Regions from separate parts of the Homo sapiens genome. Here all the other regions are linked to region 4. The links are contacts of gene promoters, found by promoter capture Hi-C in blood cells and fetal thymus (Javierre and others, 2016). All regions are on one chromosome and are shown on one strand. The core of a region is centred on a gene start or on the middle of the fragment in contact, and the rest is flanking DNA. Distances in the headings are between cores, read along the strand shown.

Region 1 (2,700 bases), core at 72-2,571, 230 kb after region 4:
CTCACTTTGACTGGTGAGTACACAGGAAATATTGATGAAAACAGGTGATGCCATTTGCTGGAAGGAAGTGAAGTTGACCACTCTTACAGAGTAAATGGCCAGGCCAGGAGTGAGGGGAGAGTGGCTATGGCCAGCGACCACTAGAACTGGGGAGCTGGAGATGACCTTGGAGAAAAGATAAAACCTTTTATTTAAAAGAAGAAAAATCAACTTTGTATCAGTATGTTCCAATCTGAAACATATACAGTACAATAATTGTCAAGATCTGGATTTCTAGCTAGCTAGCCGACAATCAAATCATTTACTTTTTTGTTGTTGTTGAGAGGGAGTCTCGCTCTGTCACCCAGGCTGGAGTGCAGTGGCGCGATCTCAGCTCCCTGCAACCTCTGCCTCCCGGGTTCAAGCAATTTTCCTGCCTCAGCCTCCCGAGTAGCTGGGACTACAGGTGTCCGCCACCACGTCCAGCTAATTTTTGTACTTTTAGTAGAGAAGAGGTTTCACCATGTTGGCCAGGATGGTCTTGATCTGTTGACCTTGTGATCCACCCACTTTGGCCTCCCAAAGTGCTGGGATTACAGGCATGAGCCACCGCGCTCGGCCAATCATTTACTTTTTTTACTCCTTTAGGTATGTTGACAAAGCTTATGACCTAGATTTTGGACTCTGGGAGCCTGCCTGGCATTATGAAGGAGATGGGTTTTCTTCATTTGATTTTGTCATTTCCTATGGTAATTTTTATTAGGTCACTCAGTAACTTCTTTTGCCCTTGAAGTGAGAATGAAAACTATCTTTTCAAATTCCTGATCTCTTGTTCTGTTTTGGTTCAGTTCTTAACATACCTCTAGCTTCCTAAGAACTCTGTCCACTCCCAGTACTCTTATCTCCCCGATATCTTGTTTGTGGCTAAGAACCAATTCTGACTGGTTAATATAAAAGGCTGGGATGAAAGGAATGAGGATTCGTTGCATTCCATTCTTGCTACGTTCACTGACCAGTGTAGCCCACCCATAGACTGAGGTGTCAGCCACACTGAGGGCCTGTAGCAGCTCCTCTGACTGCGGTCGAACCTTGATTATGCAGACATAAACCCCTGGAAAAAAAAGAGGAAAAACTGAGCAGGAAGGTTCAGAGGCTCTATTGAGCCAACTGAATTAGGATAGGAAGGGAAAATTGTGACATGCAAATTCAGCAAAAGAGAAAATGTGAATTTAGTTTTGAGTATTCAATATCAGCACAATATTGGCCACTACGAGGAGGATGCCAAATAAAAAGAAAAATACTCCTAGAGAAACCACAACTAAACTTGTTTTCTGAGAATACCATTCTTTCTTTTTTTTGGAGACAGGGTCTCACTGTGTCGTGCAGGCTAGAGCACAGTGGCGTGATCATGGCATTCTGCAGCCCGACCTCCCAGGCTCTGGCGATCCTCCCACCTCAGCCTCCCGAGTAGCTGGGATTACAGGCATGAGCCACTGTGCCTGGCTAATTTTTGTATTTTTTAGCTGAGGTGGGTGGATCACAAGGTCAAGAGTTCGAGACCAGCCTGGCCAACATGGTGAAACCCCCATCTCTACTAAAAATACGAGGATTAGCCGGGTGTGATGGTGGGTACCTGTAATCCCAGCTACTTGGGAGACTGAGGCAGGGAAATTGCTTGAGATGGACGTTGCAGTGAGCTGAGATCACACCACTGCATTCCAGCTTGGGGACAGAGCAAGACTCCGTCTCAAAAAAAAAAATTATATTTTTTATAGAGAAGGGACTTCATTATGTTGCCCAGGCTGGTCTCAAACTCCTGGGCTCAAGCGATCCTCCTGCCTTGGCCTCCCAAAGTGCTGGGTTTACAGGCGTGAGAAACTGCTCCCTGGCTAAGAATACCATTCTTATTCAACATGTCAGGGAATATTAAATGATATAACACAAGCAGGGCAATTAAGAGCTGGGGATATAGAATGAAGTAGTCAGTGCTGGTGAACTCAGGAAAGGGTTTGTGAAAGACAGACAAGCTTTGAGCATCATTAATAACTTATGTATCAGACCACCTCTTGGTGTCATTATTTTTATCAATGGTAGGAACTGTTTTTCCAGTTACCCATGATTAATCCTTAGCTGTCTTTTTTTTTTTTTTTTAAAGAGACAGAATTTCACACTGTTGCCCAGGCTGGAGTGCAGTGGTGCAATTCTACCTCACTGCAGCCTTAAACTCCTGGGCTCAAGTAATCCTCCCACCTCAGCCTCCCAGGCAGCTAGGACTCCAGGCATGTGCCACCATGCCTGGCTAATTTTTAATTTTTATTTATTGCTATTATTATTATTTTATATATATTTTTGAGACAGAGTCTCGCCCTGTTGCCCAGGCTAGAGTGCAGTGGCGCAATCTCAGCTCACTGCAAGCTCTGCCTCCCAGGTTCACGCCATTCTCCTGCCTCAGCCTCCCAAGTAGCTGGGACTACAGGCGCCTGCCACCACATCCGGCTAATTTTTGTATTTTTAGTAGAGACGAGGTTTTACCTTGTTAGCCAGGATGGTCTCGATCTCCTGACCTCGTGATCCTCCCACCTCAGCCTCCCAAAGTGCTGGGATTACAGGCGTGAGCCACCATGCCTGGACTATTTATTATTTTTGTAGAGACAGAGTCTTGCTCTTGCCCAGGCCGGACTGCAGTGGCACAATCACAACTCACTGAAACCTTGAATTCTT
Region 2 (2,700 bases), core at 164-2,663, 140 kb before region 4:
CAGTGAGCCAAGATCCTGCCACTGCACTCCAGCCAGGGCAACAGAGGACAGAGTGAGGCTCCGTTTCAAAAAAAAGAATGCCTTTGATCAGTGATTTCATTAAGTTGACTTTCGACCACTGAAATTTACTTAATGTCTATTTTTGCCTCTTCTGAGGCATATGTGCTTCTCTCCTTATCTCTTTGGCTATGATAAGCTAATTATTTATGTTTGCATAATATTTATGTTTGCATGTTAGTGACATATATTTTAAAATGTGATACACTCCTGTAATTTATGAGAGTATGTTCATTGCTGTGAGCTTTGAAGGTGCTCTAATCCTTCCTCATATTTGGCCTTAGAATGCACCTCGGATCCCCCAAGGTTTAGGCTTTCTTCATTTGTCTTTGAAACTATATCTTCTGTCTCTTGTCATATCTGCTTATTGCGTGTTTTTCATACCTTCCACCTCTCTAAAAGCCGTTACCTGAGCCCTCGTTATCACTTTTGGTTGAATGTGCTGCACTTAGCTGCATTTCTAAGTTTCTGATTCTTGCAAGTTTGTGGAAACAGAGGAGTCTTTAACCCACATCAGCCTTGATCTAAGTGTACCACTTTACTTAAAAGTTCGTGGGATCTGGAGCTCCTGGTCTAGCAAGCCATGAAAATGCCAATAAATGTTTGTAATAAAGCTTTTATTTAAACATCCATTTTGTTCGACCTTGAAGCTTTACTAATATGCTGAAGAACAAACAGCCGACGCCAGTGAATATTCGGGCTTCGATGCAGCAACAACAGCAGCTAGCCAGTGCCAGAAACAGAAGACTGGCCCAGCAGATGGAGAATAGACCCTCTGTCCAGGCAGCATTAAAACTTAAGCAGGTGAGAGAATGGGTCTTAATGCTCCAGAAGCAGCTGGTGATCTCTGTGAGGGAGTCCACTGAGGCTGTCAGGACGTGATGGATGATTGCAAAGTGGCTCAGGGCAAAAAGCTGAAACTTCTCTGGAAGAAAGAGAAGTTCAGAGAATTCCAATTTTGGCAGGTACCAATAAGTAACTTTTTACTGTCTTTCTCTTTTAGGGAGTTTGCCATCTATGTGGCCTGTTTCTGTTACCAATGAGTATTAATCTTTTGTTTTCTGATCCTTAACCCTTAACATAGATTAATGGCTTATTCCACAAAGAAACTTTATTTCAGCTTTAGATAATCTCACAGCATCCTTTACTCTCTGTTAAATGATTTACCCAACAGGGAAATAATTTTATTCTTTTTCCCATAGTGCAGGGAGTTTGCATGGCCTTAGTCAAAGGTTTTCTTTTTTTTTTTTTTTTTAGACGGAGTCTTGCTCTGTCGCCCAGGCTGGAGTGCAGTGGCACGATCTCGGCTCACTGCAAGCTCCGCCTCCCGGGTCCATACCATTCTCCTGCCTCAGCCTCCCGAACAGCTGGGACTAAAGGTGCCCGCCACCACACCCAGCTAATTTTTTTGTATATTTAATAGAGACAGGGTTTCACCATACTAGCCAGGATGGTCTCGATCTCCTGACCTCGTGATCCACCCGCCTCGGCCTCCCAAAGTGCTGGGATTACAGGCTTGAGCCACCGCGCCCAGCAGTCAAAGGTTTTCAATGCTAAAATATACAGAGTAGAGTGACCCTCATTTCCACAGCACCTAAAGTTTTACCAGTAAAGTGGAGCAAGAATACTGAGTAATTTGAGTTAGGGGTTCTCTTTTTCAAATTTACAGTGAGAGATAATCCTATTCAGACCTGAAATAAAACCTGCTCTTTATTATTCATAGAATTTATATGCAAGTCCGGACAGTGGCTGTGGAAGGATATGTCCAAGCTGTGGCTGGGCGTCTGGAGGGCAGTGCCATGCAACTGTAAGGGCTTTGGTAGCATTGCATGGCTATGCATAAATTCAGCAGTTAAATATAACACCCTTACACCCCCACCCTGAACCATTGGGCTCACTGACCAAAAATAAACAAGGGTGTCTGCTTCGGCTACCTTAAGCCTTGGAGTGACTGGATTCCTCCCTGACTCAGGAAAGCAGCAAAAGGCACCATTTTCCAAGAGTAAATGGAAGTTGCTGAAGATGAATCTCTGACAGATCATTCCAAAGGACCTTTCAACAAGAAGCTTTAAGTATAGGCTCTGCAGGAAGTAGTCCCTATCCAGAGTAGTACTATTAAATAGAATTTTTTTATGTTTTTGGTTTGGTTTGGTTTGGTTTGTTTTGAGACGGAGTCTTGCTCTGTCACCCAGGCTGTAGTGCAGTGGTGCAATCTCAACTCACTGCAGCCTCCGCCTCCCGGGTTCAAGCGATTCTCCTGTCTCAGCTACAGGCGCCCGCCACCACACCCGGCTAATTTTTGTATTTTTAGTAGAGACGGAGTTTTGTCATGTTGGCCAGACTGGTCTTGAACTCCTGACCTCAAGTGATCTGCCTGCCTCAGTATCCCAAAGTGTTCAGATTACAGGCATGAGCTACCGTGCCCAGCCAGAACTTTCTACAATGATGGAAATGTTCTGTATTTGCTCTCCGGTACAGTAGCCACTAGTCACATGTGGCTATTGAAAACTTTAAATGTGACTAGTGCAATTAAGGAGCTTAATTTTTTTTAATTTAATTTTAGGCCAGGCCTGTAATCCCAGCACTCTGGGAGGCCAAGGCAGGCGGATCACTTGAGGTCAGGAGTTTGAGACTAGCCTGGCC
Region 3 (2,736 bases), core at 65-2,564, 160 kb before region 4:
GAACAGCTCCCGGAGCATAGTGGGGCCTGCTTGGCCCTGCCTCACCCCTTACCATCCTCACAGGATTCTGCGTCTAACTCTCTTTGTCTCTCTCTCACACACACACACACACACACACACACACACACACCGAGCAAGGACCTCGGCCATTCCTGATCCCCTCTGCTTGGGTGACCCATCACCCTTCCACTCACTTCAGTTCTTGGAGCAAGAAGCCAGCCTCTGAAATTTTTCCAGGCAAGTGAAGTTGGAGGAGTTCAGTGTGGATCTTGCCCCCGCCTCCCCCAACACACACACAGCTACCCCAGCCTCAACAACACTTACTAGAATGTGGGGAAAGGCAGAGCCAGCTCCCCAGCACCCCTGCCCTCACCACCATCCCCACTGGGCTGGGCAGGGGAAGGCTCCCATAGTGCAGGTGGCTCTGCCAAGAAAAGCAGCTCAAGCCGGGGCCTGCCTGGGTCCTGAGGTGGAGGAGCTGCCGAGGTTCAGCCCCCCTCTCTCTATCTTTCCCTCTCCCAGGGAGCTTGCAGGCTCCCCACAGCCTCACTCGGGTTCCTCCCAGATCTCATCATCCCTCTCAAGGAACAGCTCCTGGAACACAGTGGGGTCTGCTTGGGTCGTGAGGTAGAGGGGACGCCACCTCAGCCCCCGCCTCCTCTTCTCGGAATCTCAGGCTCCCTGGAAACTGCCTGGTTCCTTCTGGACCCCATCACCTCCCCTAGGACACAGCTCCCAGAGCCCAGCAAGGCCTGTGTCCAAGCTCTGACCACCCCCAACCCAGACCAACACGCATTTGTCCTCTCCTTTTGGGGAGGATCGAGTAGCTGTGGTCAAAGCTTCCAAATACTCTGCCCCTGGAGAGGAGCTCCGTCAGCTGCTGCGGCAGGGAGGGGGTCTCACCATCCCATCCATCCCTCTAAAGGCCTCACCCAGCCCCCAACCCCCCAGGACTCCCCATTCCTAAACTGGCCTGTGGGAGAAAGTTAATAATTACCAAAATCTTCCTGCCTGCTCTCTGGCAGGCCCCTCTCCCCAGGCCCCCTTCACTGCCCCTTCTCCTGGCCTCCCAATACTGTGGGGCCCTCCGGCAGCCGAAGACCTCCCAGGCCGGGCCCAGGGTGCTCACCTGCTGCCTCAGTCTGCCTCCTCTCCAGCAGGGCTCTGGGGCCTGGGCTCTGGCACTGCCAAGCAGCTCCCTGCGCTCAGCCCAGCCGGGACTCCTCCCCGCTGCACTCCCAGAATCTGTCCCACTCCCTCCCAGCCCTGCCCGCTGAGCTGGCTCGGTGGGGAGATAGTGGCTGAGCTCCTTCTTGACTTGGCCCTGGGGTTGGGCCCTTGTTAAAGGGATACACACCTTTTTTCACACCCCTCTACCCCCATCCCAGAGGGAGTGGTGAAAACTGGCACTCCCCCAACCCCACCCTCCCAGCCCCGCAGGGGCTGAGCAGAACCTGACAGGGTAGAGAAAGGAAGGGAAGGACTATCACCTGCCTTTCTCACCTGGGTCACTGGGATCCCAGTTTCAGGGGCTCCCAACAGACAAGTTCAGTTAACATTCCAGGCCAGCCTAACTGGCCACAGAAACCTCCTTGCCACTGGGGTTTCAGGAGTAACGCCCGACTTCTGTGCTCAAATCAGAAGGCAGATGCCAGGGACCTGTCTGGCTCCCTGGTCTTCTGTCTCTAGTCTGACCCATCAGCTCTACTGAGACCCAGCCCTAAGATCCCTCATGTACACCAGAAGACTCCTCTGGAAACTCCCCACACCCCACCGTTTCCCTAAGATACCCAAGGAAACTGGCCAGCTCGACCTCCCTACACTAGGGCAGCAGCTGAAACCAAAGAGGGGCCCACTTGCCCACTCCAGCGGGAATGATATTGGGTCACTGGGCACTCACCATGTGTCAGGCTCTCTGTAAGTGCTTTACATGATGTGTGGCATTGTCCTCCTGGCAATCCTGTGGAAGTAATATTCATATCCCCCATTTTACAGATGAGGAAACTGATACTAAGAGCATGCCCAAAATTCCAATGATAAGTGGCAGATCTGAGATTCAAACTCAGGCCAGTCAGCCTGTTTCTAACCGCCCCCCACCCCCACCCACCCCATTTCCCTGGTTGTGCCAGCCAGGGCTCAGAACACCTGGACTAATATCCTTTTCCCCAAGTGTGCACACATACCCTCCTCTCCTATAAGAGGGCCCGCCCATTGGCAAAGAGGAGCCTGTCCCTCAGAGAGGACCATGTTGCCCTTTTGGACCTGGTACCACCCTCAACCCAAACCCATAGGGAAAAGTGAGTCCCCATTCACTTCCACAGCCAACCACTCCAGCCCCACGTGCCCCACCCTACCAATGACTTTGCCTTTCACCCCCAAGCTCCTCTCACCCGTGGACCCTCAGGGAGGGGGTGTCCAGTCAAGACAACATGTTTCACTTTTTTCATTTTTTTTTATTAATCAAATGATACAAAACAACCATCATTCTGTCAATGCCCAAGCACCCAGCTGGTCCTCTCCCCACATGTCACACTCTCCTCAGCCTCTCCCCCAACCCTGCTCTCCCTCCTCCCCTGCCCTAGCCCAGGGACAGAGTCTAGGAGGAGCCTGGGGCAGAGCTGGAGGCAGGAAGAGAGCACTGGACAGACAGCTATGGTTTGGATTGGGGAAGAGATTAGGAAGTAGGTTCTTAAAGACCCTTTTTTAGTACCAGATATCCAGCCATATTCCCAGCTC
Region 4 (2,700 bases), core at 118-2,617:
AAAGTTGTTTTTAAATGACAATAAAACAAGCCAGAATGTCTTTTGTGCTGGAGTGTCTGCTGGCATTTGCCCCGTGCATGTATAGCTTGGTCTTGATTTGATTGGCACCCCTACTTGTAACCGCAGAACATCCCCCTTTCCCTTCCTGTTCTGCCCCCACTTTTGTCTAGAGCAGAAGGGACTTGGCTTTGGCCACTACCCATCCTTCCTGCTGCCACTGGAGGTGGGAGCCAGGCACTGATCTGTCTATGCAGAACCATCCCCCGTAGGATGAGGCCTGTCCTTACTCATTTCTCAAGAAACAAGATGCTTCCAAAAGGTCTGTCATCCTCCAGTTGAAGTCTGTGTGCCTACCAAGAATGGCCGGAGGACTCGCTGCTTGACGGGAGGGATGCTCCAGCTTGGTCTCCAGGGACAACTGTACCTGGAGATAAAGTCTGGATACCAGGGAGGGACAGAGATGCTCTTCCTTCCACAGTGTGGCCACTTGCTGGGCCATGTGAACCAGCAGAGGAGAGTTCCTTGGCTATGCTGTTGTTCCCCCGCTGTCCAGGGAGAATGGAGGTGGACTGAGGAGTGAAGTTTGGGCGAACTGCACAGAGCTGCTCCTCTTCACCCCGAAAATTTGTCTTTTTACAGAATCCAGGTTCTCCCCTCCCTCATCACTGCTGTTGCTTCCTTTGAAAGTCTAAACCACTGGAGGCTTCTTTTTCCTTCCTCTCTCCTTCCCCAGTTTCCTCTGTCCCAATTAAAACCAGGATGGAGAGCATTTGCTGGCTGGCCCCAATTATTGTACCCTTGCCCAAAGGGAGGGGCCTCTGTCGTGACCCCTCAGAAATCTGGCAGTCTGGGTTTCCACCTTTCCCCTATTTAACTCTCAGCCCCCACCCATCCCCTGGGGTTGCGGCTGGCAGGCCGGGACTTGCAGAACCAAATGGGCCAGGGGCCAAGTTCATTCTTTTGGGAGAGAGCAATGGTACCTTCCCTTAACGGGAAAACGAGAAATATTGAGGGGAAGATGGACTGCGATCCAAACGCCCTGGCTCTCAGGCCTGGACTCTAGGGCTTAGCCAGATGCCTAAACCGCCCAAGCCGAGAAACAACTTAGAAGACAGACATAACCCTGGGATTCAGGGAAGGCGCGAGCACCGCCCAGGACCTGGTAGGGTGCGAGCCGCGAGCAGTCCGGGAGGGAGCGCGCCTAGGGCGGAGCGTAGGCTGTGGGGGGAGGGCTGGGAGTCCGGGGCCGCCCCACACCCGCACTCCTCCCGGGTTTCTGCTCTCCGCCCGTGTGGAGTGGTGGGGGCCTGGGTGGGAATGGGCGTGTGCCAGCGCACGCGCGCTCCCTGGAAGGAGAAGTCTCAGCTAGAACGAGCGGCCCTAGGTTTTCGGAAGGGAGGATCAGGGATGTTTGCGAGCGGCTGGAACCAGACGGTGCCGATAGAGGAAGCGGGCTCCATGGCTGCCCTCCTGCTGCTGCCCCTGCTGCTGTTGCTACCGCTGCTGCTGCTGAAGCTACACCTCTGGCCGCAGTTGCGCTGGCTTCCGGCGGACTTGGCCTTTGCGGTGCGAGCTCTGTGCTGCAAAAGGGCTCTTCGAGCTCGCGCCCTGGCCGCGGCTGCCGCCGACCCGGAAGGTCCCGAGGGGGGCTGCAGCCTGGCCTGGCGCCTCGCGGAACTGGCCCAGCAGCGCGCCGCGCACACCTTTCTCATTCACGGCTCGCGGCGCTTTAGCTACTCAGAGGCGGAGCGCGAGAGTAACAGGGCTGCACGCGCCTTCCTACGTGCGCTAGGCTGGGACTGGGGACCCGACGGCGGCGACAGCGGCGAGGGGAGCGCTGGAGAAGGCGAGCGGGCAGCGCCGGGAGCCGGAGATGCAGCGGCCGGAAGCGGCGCGGAGTTTGCCGGAGGGGACGGTGCCGCCAGAGGTGGAGGAGCCGCCGCCCCTCTGTCACCTGGAGCAACTGTGGCGCTGCTCCTCCCCGCTGGCCCAGAGTTTCTGTGGCTCTGGTTCGGGCTGGCCAAGGCCGGCCTGCGCACTGCCTTTGTGCCCACCGCCCTGCGCCGGGGCCCCCTGCTGCACTGCCTCCGCAGCTGCGGCGCGCGCGCGCTGGTGCTGGCGCCAGGTAAGGCTGGAGCTCCGAACTGACTAAGGCGGGGCCAGCCACAGAAGGGGGCGTGTCGGAGACCACAGAAAGGCTTGGTCTCATCCCTGGGCCTGGGAAGAAGCCGACTATCCCTTGGGGTTCGAAAGTGGGTGGAGATAGGAGTCTCCGGGTTTGAGAAGGGATGAGGCTGAATCTTTGGTGCCCCAAGGATCCCCAAGGAGTCGAGTTCCAGGCCTCAGACCCAAGATGGAATGTCCATACCCTTCACCCTCATCCAAGAGCAGTGTGGGCTGGGATAGGGAGGGGACATGGGTCATAGGCTCTTCTAGGTAGAGCCAGGGCCCCGGCGTTGTGCTTTCCCACCCTTCTAGAGTTTCTGGAGTCCCTGGAGCCGGACCTGCCCGCCCTGAGAGCCATGGGGCTCCACCTGTGGGCTGCAGGCCCAGGAACCCACCCTGCTGGAATTAGCGATTTGCTGGCTGAAGTGTCCGCTGAAGTGGATGGGCCAGTGCCAGGATACCTCTCTTCCCCCCAGAGCATAACAGACACGTGCCTGTACATCTTCACCTCTGGCACCACGGGTGAGGGCCGGG

Evidence for each region. Contacts are between HindIII fragments. The CHiCAGO score rates a contact against its expected background, and 5 or more counts as called.
Region 1: a contact is called between a fragment that was not itself captured here and the fragment with the promoter of SLC27A3 in region 4, in 11 of 17 cell types (total CD4 T cells, activated CD4 T cells, naive B cells and 8 more). The highest score is 10.1, in total CD4 T cells.
Region 2: a contact is called between a fragment that was not itself captured here and the fragment with the promoter of SLC27A3 in region 4, in 4 of 17 cell types (M0 macrophages, endothelial precursors, M1 macrophages and 1 more). The highest score is 7.4, in M0 macrophages.
Region 3: the fragment with the promoter of S100A16 here is called in contact with the fragment with the promoter of SLC27A3 in region 4 in 2 of 17 cell types (M2 macrophages and M0 macrophages); the score reaches 6.1 in M2 macrophages.

What each region holds. Positions count from the first base shown.
Region 1 is chr1:154,000,896-154,003,595 of GRCh38, forward strand. It overlaps NUP210L (nucleoporin 210 like), which reads right to left. Exons shown (of 40, transcript NM_207308.3): 36 at 840-1,090; 37 at 1-165. Among named protein-coding and RNA genes, the nearest start is that of RPS27, 11 kb to the left of the region's middle. The HindIII fragment of the contact is 1,365 bases long and covers 640-2,004 here.
Region 2 is chr1:153,637,588-153,640,287 of GRCh38, forward strand. It overlaps CHTOP (chromatin target of PRMT1), which reads left to right. Exons shown (of 6, transcript NM_015607.4): 3 at 708-861. Among named protein-coding and RNA genes, the nearest start is that of CHTOP, 4.9 kb to the left of the region's middle. The HindIII fragment of the contact is 1,416 bases long and covers 706-2,121 here.
Region 3 is chr1:153,611,823-153,614,558 of GRCh38, forward strand. It overlaps S100A16 (S100 calcium binding protein A16), which reads right to left and starts at 1,315. Exons shown (of 3, transcript NM_080388.3): 1 at 1,130-1,315. It overlaps S100A14 (S100 calcium binding protein A14), which reads right to left. Exons shown (of 4, transcript NM_020672.3): 4 at 2,433-2,736. The HindIII fragment of the contact is 6,157 bases long and covers 838-2,736 here.
Region 4 is chr1:153,774,040-153,776,739 of GRCh38, forward strand. SLC27A3 (solute carrier family 27 member 3) reads left to right here and starts at 1,368. Exons shown (of 10, transcript NM_024330.4): 1 at 1,368-2,125; 2 at 2,479-2,688. The coding sequence starts at 1,459. INTS3 (integrator complex subunit 3) reads left to right here. Exons shown (of 30, transcript NM_023015.5): 30 at 1-769. RefSeq lists an enhancer at 1,769-2,435 and a silencer at 1,804-1,995. The HindIII fragment of the contact is 7,576 bases long and covers 1-2,700 here.